Linked DNA regions of Homo sapiens: region 2 is linked to region 1. The links are contacts of gene promoters, found by promoter capture Hi-C in human tissues and cell types (Jung and others, 2019). All regions are on one chromosome and are shown on one strand. Each heading gives the region's core, a stretch centred on a gene start or on the middle of the fragment in contact. The rest is flanking DNA. Distances are from core to core; before and after follow the strand shown.

What was found. The method cuts DNA at HindIII sites, captures the fragments that hold promoters and counts their contacts. A contact is called where the count stands out against the background at its distance.
Region 2: a fragment that was not itself captured here is called in contact with the fragment with the promoter of FAM162B in region 1 in 3 of the 25 tissues and cell types used here (heart left ventricle, heart right ventricle and thymus).

What each region holds. Positions count from the first base shown.
Region 1 is chr6:116,763,046-116,767,314 of GRCh38, forward strand. FAM162B (family with sequence similarity 162 member B) reads right to left here and starts at 2,674. Exons shown (of 4, transcript NM_001085480.3): 1 at 2,360-2,674; 2 at 2,102-2,210. The coding sequence starts at 2,531. It overlaps LOC105377963 (a long non-coding RNA gene), which reads left to right and starts at 3,323. Exons shown (of 3, transcript XR_942910.3): 1 at 3,323-3,494; 2 at 3,598-3,676; 3 at 4,021-4,269. RefSeq lists an enhancer at 1,695-2,209. The HindIII fragment of the contact is 7,101 bases long and covers 452-4,269 here.
Region 2 is chr6:116,809,593-116,813,630 of GRCh38, forward strand. It overlaps GPRC6A (G protein-coupled receptor class C group 6 member A), which reads right to left. Exons shown (of 6, transcript NM_148963.4): 2 at 1-25. Among named protein-coding and RNA genes, the nearest start is that of GPRC6A, 17 kb to the right of the region's middle. The HindIII fragment of the contact is 5,660 bases long and covers 1-4,038 here.

The DNA.
Region 1 (4,269 bases), core at 1,424-3,923:
TAAATTTTCCACTGGTTAAAAGACTACAGAAAACTCCTATCTAGCCTATTTTCTTTAGATTTTAGGCAGAGTGATGTAAGTTTTAAGATGTTAGTTGCAAACAGGTCCAATTAGTGAGTATGGAGAAATTATTAGATTATATTTGCTGCTAACTTTTGTTCCAGATGGAACCTAGAAGCTCTGATCTTTTTTACCCAGCCATTTGGCTTTAATCTATTATAACAAATTAGTTTAGCACTGAGAAAAACAAGACAAAGTACAGTTATTATTAAACACAATTAGTGTATGATACAAAAATTATAGGTCACTTGTTCATTATATGTCCATTAAAAGGTAAAAGCTGTTTACATTGTAAGTGTGACACTTAGCTTAACAGGAATATCTCTCTTAAATAGTAATGCTTAAAAAGTTATAGAAAAATAATAAAATGAAAAATACTCAAATACTTTTATGTTTCCAATGCAAAACTGCAATGCTTTTTATAGGCATCCTGTTCTTAGTGAAATGCTCCTGTTTATAATACATCTTTTGACTATGATCTTGGGGAAATTACATTATTTCTGTAAAATGAGTCTGTTCACAAATACAGCTATGTTAAATGCAATACTGGGCATAGGTTTTCTTGACAAACAATATGCAATAATGTTGGTTCTTTACACTCTTGATTACTTGGTTAGGCCACTAGAAATAAAAATTCAAACCAATTGAGGGTGGTGGCTTACTTATTTTAATTTTTTTTTTTTTTTTTACTTCTTTGGCATTTATAGTATTAAATTTTCAGGCATCAATTAAAATTTGATAACCAGAGCTTATGATGATAAAGACTTTTCTGAGGCTAACTTTTGCTTTCAGCTAAGTCTGTAGTTTGGAGTCTATAGATCTCGAGGAAAAATAATCTTAGAAAGTGCCTCTGTAGTTGAATAAATACTGAAAACGGATTCAAATGCAGTGTTATTTCAAATTCCATGTCCATTTCTCATTTGGTGACTTGCTCCAATAAAAGAACGAAAATGCTTCAGAATTCATTACTGAGTGTACATTTCCTGCCATGTTCTCCCACCCCACCCCCTAGCTATCTGAGATGCTTTGGTAACTGATAAACTGCAATTGTTTATAAACAATAACATGGCAGGCACCATGTGAAAAACAGAAATATAGGCCCAGTTTCCATTATCCATTCTAATAGGCATTCATTACATTGTACAAATATACAGAATATCTAAAATCCTTCTTTCACGTTATGGTTTTAGTCTTTTATTTTTAAAAGATAAACTTAAAAAGTAGTAGATTGATTTTATTTTTAGTTTCCGTCCCTCTCTTTTTTACCCAATCCCTTGTAAAAATGCTGCGAAGGTTTTTGGGCTTGGCAGAAACAGAAACTTTGGAAAGATTTTTTTACAGGTTACATTTACTTATTATTAGCATTTATTTTACAGGTTACATTACCTTAGAGGGGGAGTTATTAGTTTGAGTTTTATCATCTGTCTTGGTGGGTTTAGCATGCTGAAGAGGCCCACAGTGCTGACACTCCCGCGCGTCCCACCCTGAGTAAACCCGGAGCCTAGAGGGCTGCAGAAACACGTCCGCCAGGCGTCTCCTGCCCCAGAAGAGGAGGCCGCATGGATGCGTCTTTTTTCCAGAGACCCCCCCGCCACAGCCGCCCCGCAAGCCAAGATCAGAGAACCCCTTCCTTGGGTGGGGTAGGGGGACGCCCCCGGCCAAAGCCTGGATTGCGGTCTGGCGTCCCGGCAGCCATCCGGATGCTCGCGAGGACCGTGGCCTGTTTGGCACAAGAGCCCCACTGCCTCCCAGTTCGGAGCTTGCTGGGGACCGGCAATCTGGGCGGTGCTGGAAGTGTCCCCTGAACCTCTCAGTTTTCACCCACCTTCTGCAATCTCCCTGTAAGCTTAATTGACTCTTGACACACCGCACTGGAGGCGGGGTGTGTGTGTGGGTAAACTCCGTGTGTGGTGGGTGATATTGCGAAGTGTTGGCACTGCGGCCGCTTTCGCTCCTAGGTGGCCGCGGTCGGAAGGTGGGTCACCCCGCACCCTTGCGGCCGGGGACCGACTCTCCTTCGCGCGGCGGTCGCCACACTTACGGGATCCGAGGCGGGATCTCCTCCATCGATTTGAAACGCCCTGTCCACAGCAGGATTTTCTTGTCGAACTGCGAAGGCCTGCGCTGCGTGGGGACTCGGTGAATCTCCCCTGCAGCGAAAGCAACCCAGATGGACGCGGGAACTGACGCACCGGCACAGAGGATCAGCGCGCCCTCAAGCCGACTCCCGGGCCGGCCCCTCGCTGCCCTCCCGCAACCTCCTCCCTCCCAGGACCTCCCCGTCGGAGCCCTGGCTCACCGTGACCTTGGGGCCCAGAATTGCTGGGGGCCCCGCCGCTGGAGTAGCAGGGGAGACCCCGGGGCGGAAGAGCCGGTGCGGGCCGTCGCGTGGCCTCGAGAGGCGCCCCGGGGCCGCAGCGGACTGTTAGCCCGCGGCCAAGGCGCAGTAGGCTCCCGACCGCCCTGAGCATGCTGCCCGCTTGTCCCGCGCCGCACCCGCACCTCCGGACCCAGCCACAGGCGTTGTCCCCGCAGCTCTCCTCGTCCCGCCCCGGCCTGCCGCGCGCTGGAGAGCCTGGGACGTGCAGCTGGAACCCCTGGCGCTCGCACACTCAGCTCGCTATCCCCGTCTCCGCCCCCGGCCAGCGACCCGGGATCAGGGCGTCAAGCCCCGAGGGGCTGGTTCCTCAGGAAGCAGCCTGCCTCTGTTTGAAACAGGCTCACCACCGCCTGAGGCAGTGCGTGTAGCTCCTTTTAAATTCTTTGTATTGAGTAGAAATGTATTCCCGCCAGGCTTTTAGCCTTTGATTCCATCGTTTGTTCCCCAGGAGAATAAATCTAAATCCTCTCTTCCAGGAAGAGACAACAATCCTTCAAGTGCAGGAAACTGAAGACATTTCCCAATTAAGTGTTAAGGGCACTCCACTAACTTCTGGATGAGATTTCTTGAAGTTAGCTCCTCACCTCATCGTCTCCCACCCCCATACCTTTTCTCTTTCCTACGGAAAACAATCTCAATTCCTCCAAGTGCCTTTCTCTATCTTTTCTTCTTCTTTTCAGAGACAGTCTCTGGCTCTGTCACTCAGGCTAAAGTGCAGTGGCATGCTGATAGCTCATTGTAACGTCGAACTCCTGGACTCAAGTAGTCCTCCCACCTTAGCCTCCAGAGTAGCTAGGGCTTTGGTCGTGCGCCAGCACGCTCCGCTATTTTTTTTTTTTTTAAGAGATGGGATCTCACTATGTTGTCCAGACTGGTCTCCAACTCCTGGCCTCAAGCTATCAGCTGGGCTCTGCCTCCCAAAGCACTGGGATTACACGTATGAGCCGCCATGCCAGCTTCCTACCTCTTCATCTCTTAGCCCACAAACTCTCCACACTCCCTTCAAAATGTGCCTTTCTTCTGTCACCTTCCACCATCTCCTCTATGCTAAAAGGTAAAAGAATCTACTATTTTCAGGCATTAAATGGTAACAGGGATTCAGATTCAATGATTGGAGAGAAGGGTTGTACAAGCAATTTACTTATCTTGTTCCACAGACAACAGACCTCCTGCCAAGTCAAAGTGCTCATCAGCCCAGCACCAGGCCGAGCTCACCCTCCTCTGCTATTACTGCCTGTGAGTTTCCCTCCTTATCTAGACACTGCTTTGCACTTGTTGGATTTCTAGATATTTTGCTTCCTAACTAGACTGTCAGGCTCTTGAAAGCTATAACTTTTCTGTAACTGCCAGCTCAGTTTTTTTTTCTTTTTACATAACCGTGTTAAACAAAAAAAGAGGGGTTAATAGCTCTGTGAAGACATACATTTAGAGGAGCGCTTGCAGAAGGAACATGGGCTTTGCCTTCACACCTAGGTTTAAATCCCGGATTTGTGACTTAAAAGTTGCACAATCATGAGCAGTAAATCATTTAAGTTATAAGTCTTGGTCTCTTTTGTAAAACCAGAATTCCTATCTTTTAGGTTTATTCATGCAATGACTACCAGTAACCAGCTACGTGCCAGCTACCTCTCAGAGCTGGGGATGGAGCAGTGATGACATCAGGTGAAGATGAAGAAAAATAAAACAAGGTGAAAAAGAATAAGCAGGAGTAGAGTGAGAAGATATTTAGAAACCATGGTTAGCAATGTCCTTCTAAATGTGCCTGGTGTGTAATAATACTTCAGAAGATAATGATTTCTTTCCCCGTCACATTCTTTAGTCCCAAAACA
Region 2 (4,038 bases), core at 701-3,200, 46 kb after region 1:
TTGAAGAAAAACTGATATTTCAAAGCTGTTGGGAAACAAGTATTTTTTGAAATCAGAACATAACTCTTCTATGGACATGGCTGTATCTCATTTTGCCTACATCTCCTCATAGCAATTTCTGGATGAGTGAAGCTTATCTCTTAAATGATCTAAATTTTATTTAAAAACAATTTTTCATGATAATATTTATGAAGGGTAATATAAGAACCCACAGTTTCTTAAAAGGAGTCTATGCTACAGGATTTAACCTTTTCTTGGTGAATTTTTTGATCATTTTGAACACTGCAATATGAAGATGTGTTTGATTTTTGTTCCTTTTTGTAGTTAGAGATCAGCATTTTATTGCTGTCAAAATGCTTGCTTTTTAGACTCATAAGCCTGTCTTTTAGTTTTCTGATTCTAGTCTGTGTGATTGGAAACCAGATAAATAAGACTCTTAAGAATTACATTTAAACAGCTTTGGTTAAAGCTTAACAGCCTGCTCCTAGATAAAGTGTCTTATTTTAGTTCTGAGACATAGCTATTTCCACATTCAGAGTACATTTTTTATACATCTTGATTTGTGATTATTCCAGAGCACTGAGTTGTCTGATTACAGATTTACTGTTAAGTTTATTTCATCCACCACTATATACAAGTTATTACAAATAGTGCCTAATATATAATAAGGGTTCAATACACATTTTTAAAATGAATAAAGGGGGATATTATTGTTCAGGGTTTGATATTCTAGTTTCTTTTTAGTTCATTAAGTTTTGATAATTAAGCTATTTGAATATTACTATTTGTCATTGTGAACCATGTTTAGATGGTTCTATCTCTACAAATGCATCTCTTACTATGTTTCCTTCTGCTTCACTGATATAGCCAGATTAAATTTTTTGCTATTCTTTGGACATTCCAATTTTGCACTTGTTGCTTCTTGGCCAGATACTCTTCTCCCCTCCCTAAAAGAATAAAGTAAATAATAATAAAAATATATTAGTAAGTTAAACTATTTGAAGATTACTATTTGTCATTGTGAACCATGGCTTGCAATGACAAATAGTAATATTCAAATAGCTTAATTTATCAAAACATAATGAACTAAAAAGAAAGTATATCAAAACCCTGAACAATAATATCCCTCTTTATTAAAATTTTAAATTTAATTAAGAAATTTTAATTTAATTAAAATTTTAATTTTAACATTACAATTTCAATTAAAAAAGAGAAGTAAGCCCAGCTCATCATTGGCACAACCAACATTAGCCAGCACCACTCAGGACTTAGAGGGTCATCCTGTCACTGCCGTTGCCATCATGCATGCCACACAAGTGTCCCAAGAACCCAAGAAATCACCAACCTGCTGGTTCCATGGCTTCCACTATCAGTATTTGAGTAAGGCACCTGGAGGCCCAAGAATTGGCCTGGTTTGACCTAACACTGGTGCCAGTGTATACTGCCCTGGGACACAATGATGGGCATACTTAGCCCATTGCTAACACCACTTGGGCTCAGAGACTGGCTTACTTGGCATCCCAGTCACCAGCAAAACTGCATCATAGCTCCCATTAATAACTGTACCTAGGCCACTGAGGAAATGTCAGATGGCACTTATGCCAGTCATGGCCAAAAAAATCAAAGAAACTACACTACTACTGCAACCAGAATAAAAGCCAAAGGACCCTGCCCAACCAACACTATCTATTCATCCTTAGGAAACATTCTCCCCCTACAAAAACAAATTTTTAAAAATTGGAAGAAGCAACTGAAACATCAGATGTATATATATTAACATAAGAACACAGGAAACATGAAAAAGCCAGGAAAATGACACTTTTAAAGGAAGATATACTATCATACTGGTCTTTAAGAAAAAAAATGTAAATAAATTTTTTAAAAAAGGAACACAATAATTCTCCAGAAACAGATCTCAATCAAAAAGCAATTAATGAAATTCCAGAAAAAGAATCCAAATTAGATTCTAAAGAAGGATAGTGAGATACAAGATAATTCTGAAAAACAATACAAAGAAATCTGAAAAACAATTCAGGATATGAATGAGAAGTTTACCAAAGACATAGATGTCATAAAAGAATCAAACAGAAATTCTGCAACTGAACAATTCATTGAATGAACAACATAACACATTTGAAAGCTTCAACAATAGATTAGTTCAAGCAGACAAAAGAACCTCTGAACCTGAAGACAGTTCAGGTTCAACTTTTGAAATAACCCAGCCATGAAAATATAAAGGAAAAAAAAAGAATTAAAAAAAGCTAAACAAAGCCTTCATGGTATATGGAACACCATGAAGTGACCAAATATACAAATTATTGATATCCCAGAAGGTAAAGAGATATTGAAATAGTTAAACATATATAACAAAATAATAGATAAAAACTTTCCACATCCAGCAAGAGGTTTAGACATCCAGATACAGGAGGCCCAGCAATCCCTAAACAGATACAATGCACAAATTCTCCACAGCACATTATAGTCAAAATGTCTAAAGTCAATGACAAAGAGAGAATTCTAAAAACAGTGAGAAAAGAATTTAGTCACCTCTAAAGGAAATCCCATTATACTAACAGAGGATATCTCAGCAGAAACCTTATAGGCCAGAAGAGAATGAGATGATATATTTAAAGTGTTGAGGAAAAAACCCTGCCAGCCAAGGATACTATATCCAGAAAACTTATCCTTCATAAATAGAGGAGAAATAAAGTTGTTCCTAGAGAAGCAAAAGCGGAGGGAATTCAGCACCACTAGACTGGCCCTAAAATGCTCAAGGGAGTTCTATACTTGGAAGTGAAATGATGATGCTTATCATGGTGAAAACACAAGAAAGTGTAAAACAATGGTAAAAAAGAGGAAGGACTCAAATGATACTACTGTAGATATTCATCTACCAAACCACAATGACAAAAAATGAGAAAAAGAAAACAACATAGAATATATAAAACAAACGGTAAGCAAGAACATGACAGGAACAAAGCCTCATATGTCAACATTAACCTTGGATTTAAAAGGATTAAATTCCCCTCTTAAGAGACATAGACTGGCTGTCAATATTATACTAAATGGGCAAAAACTGGAAGCATTCCCTTTGAAAACTGGCACAAGACAAGGATGCCCTCTCTCACCACTCCTATTCAACATAGTGTTGGAAGTTCTGGCCAGGGCAATCAGGCAAGATAAAGAAATAAACGGTATTCAATTAGGAAATGAGGAAGTTAAATTGTCCCTGTTGGCAGATGACATGACTGTATGTTTAGAAAACCCCATCATCTCAGCCAAAAATCTCCTTAAGCTGATAAGCAACTTCAGCAAAGTCTCAGAATACAAAATCAATGTGCAAAAATCACAAGCATTCCTATACACCAATAACAGACAAACAGAGAGACAAATCATGAGTGAACTCCCATTCACAATTGCTTCAAAGATAATAAAATACCTAGGAATCCAACTTACAAGGGATGTGAAGGACCTCTTCAAGGAGAACTACAAACCACTGCTCAATGAAATAAAAGAAGACACAAACAAATGGAAGAATATTCCATGCTCATGGATAGAAGCATCAATATCATGAAAATGGCCATACTACCCAAGGTAATTTATAGATTCAATGCCATCCCCATCAAGCTACCAATGACTTTCTTCACAGAATTGGAAAAACTTACTTTAAAGTTCATATGGAACCAAAAAAGAGCCCACATTGCCAAGATAATCCTAAGCAAAAAGAACAAAGCTGGAGGCATTGTGCTACCTGACTTCAAACTATACTACAAGGCTACAGTAACCAAAACAGCATGGTACTGGTACCAAAAAGGAGATATAGACCAATGGAACAGAACAGCGGCCTCAGGAATAATACTACACATCTACAATCATCTGATCTTTGATAAATCTGATAAAAATAAGAAACAGGGAAGGGATTCCCTGTTTAATAAATGGTGCTGGGAAAGCTGGCTAGCCATATGCAGAAAGCTGAAACCGGATCCCTTCCTTACACCTTATACAAAAGTTAATTCAAGATGGATTAAAGACTTAAAT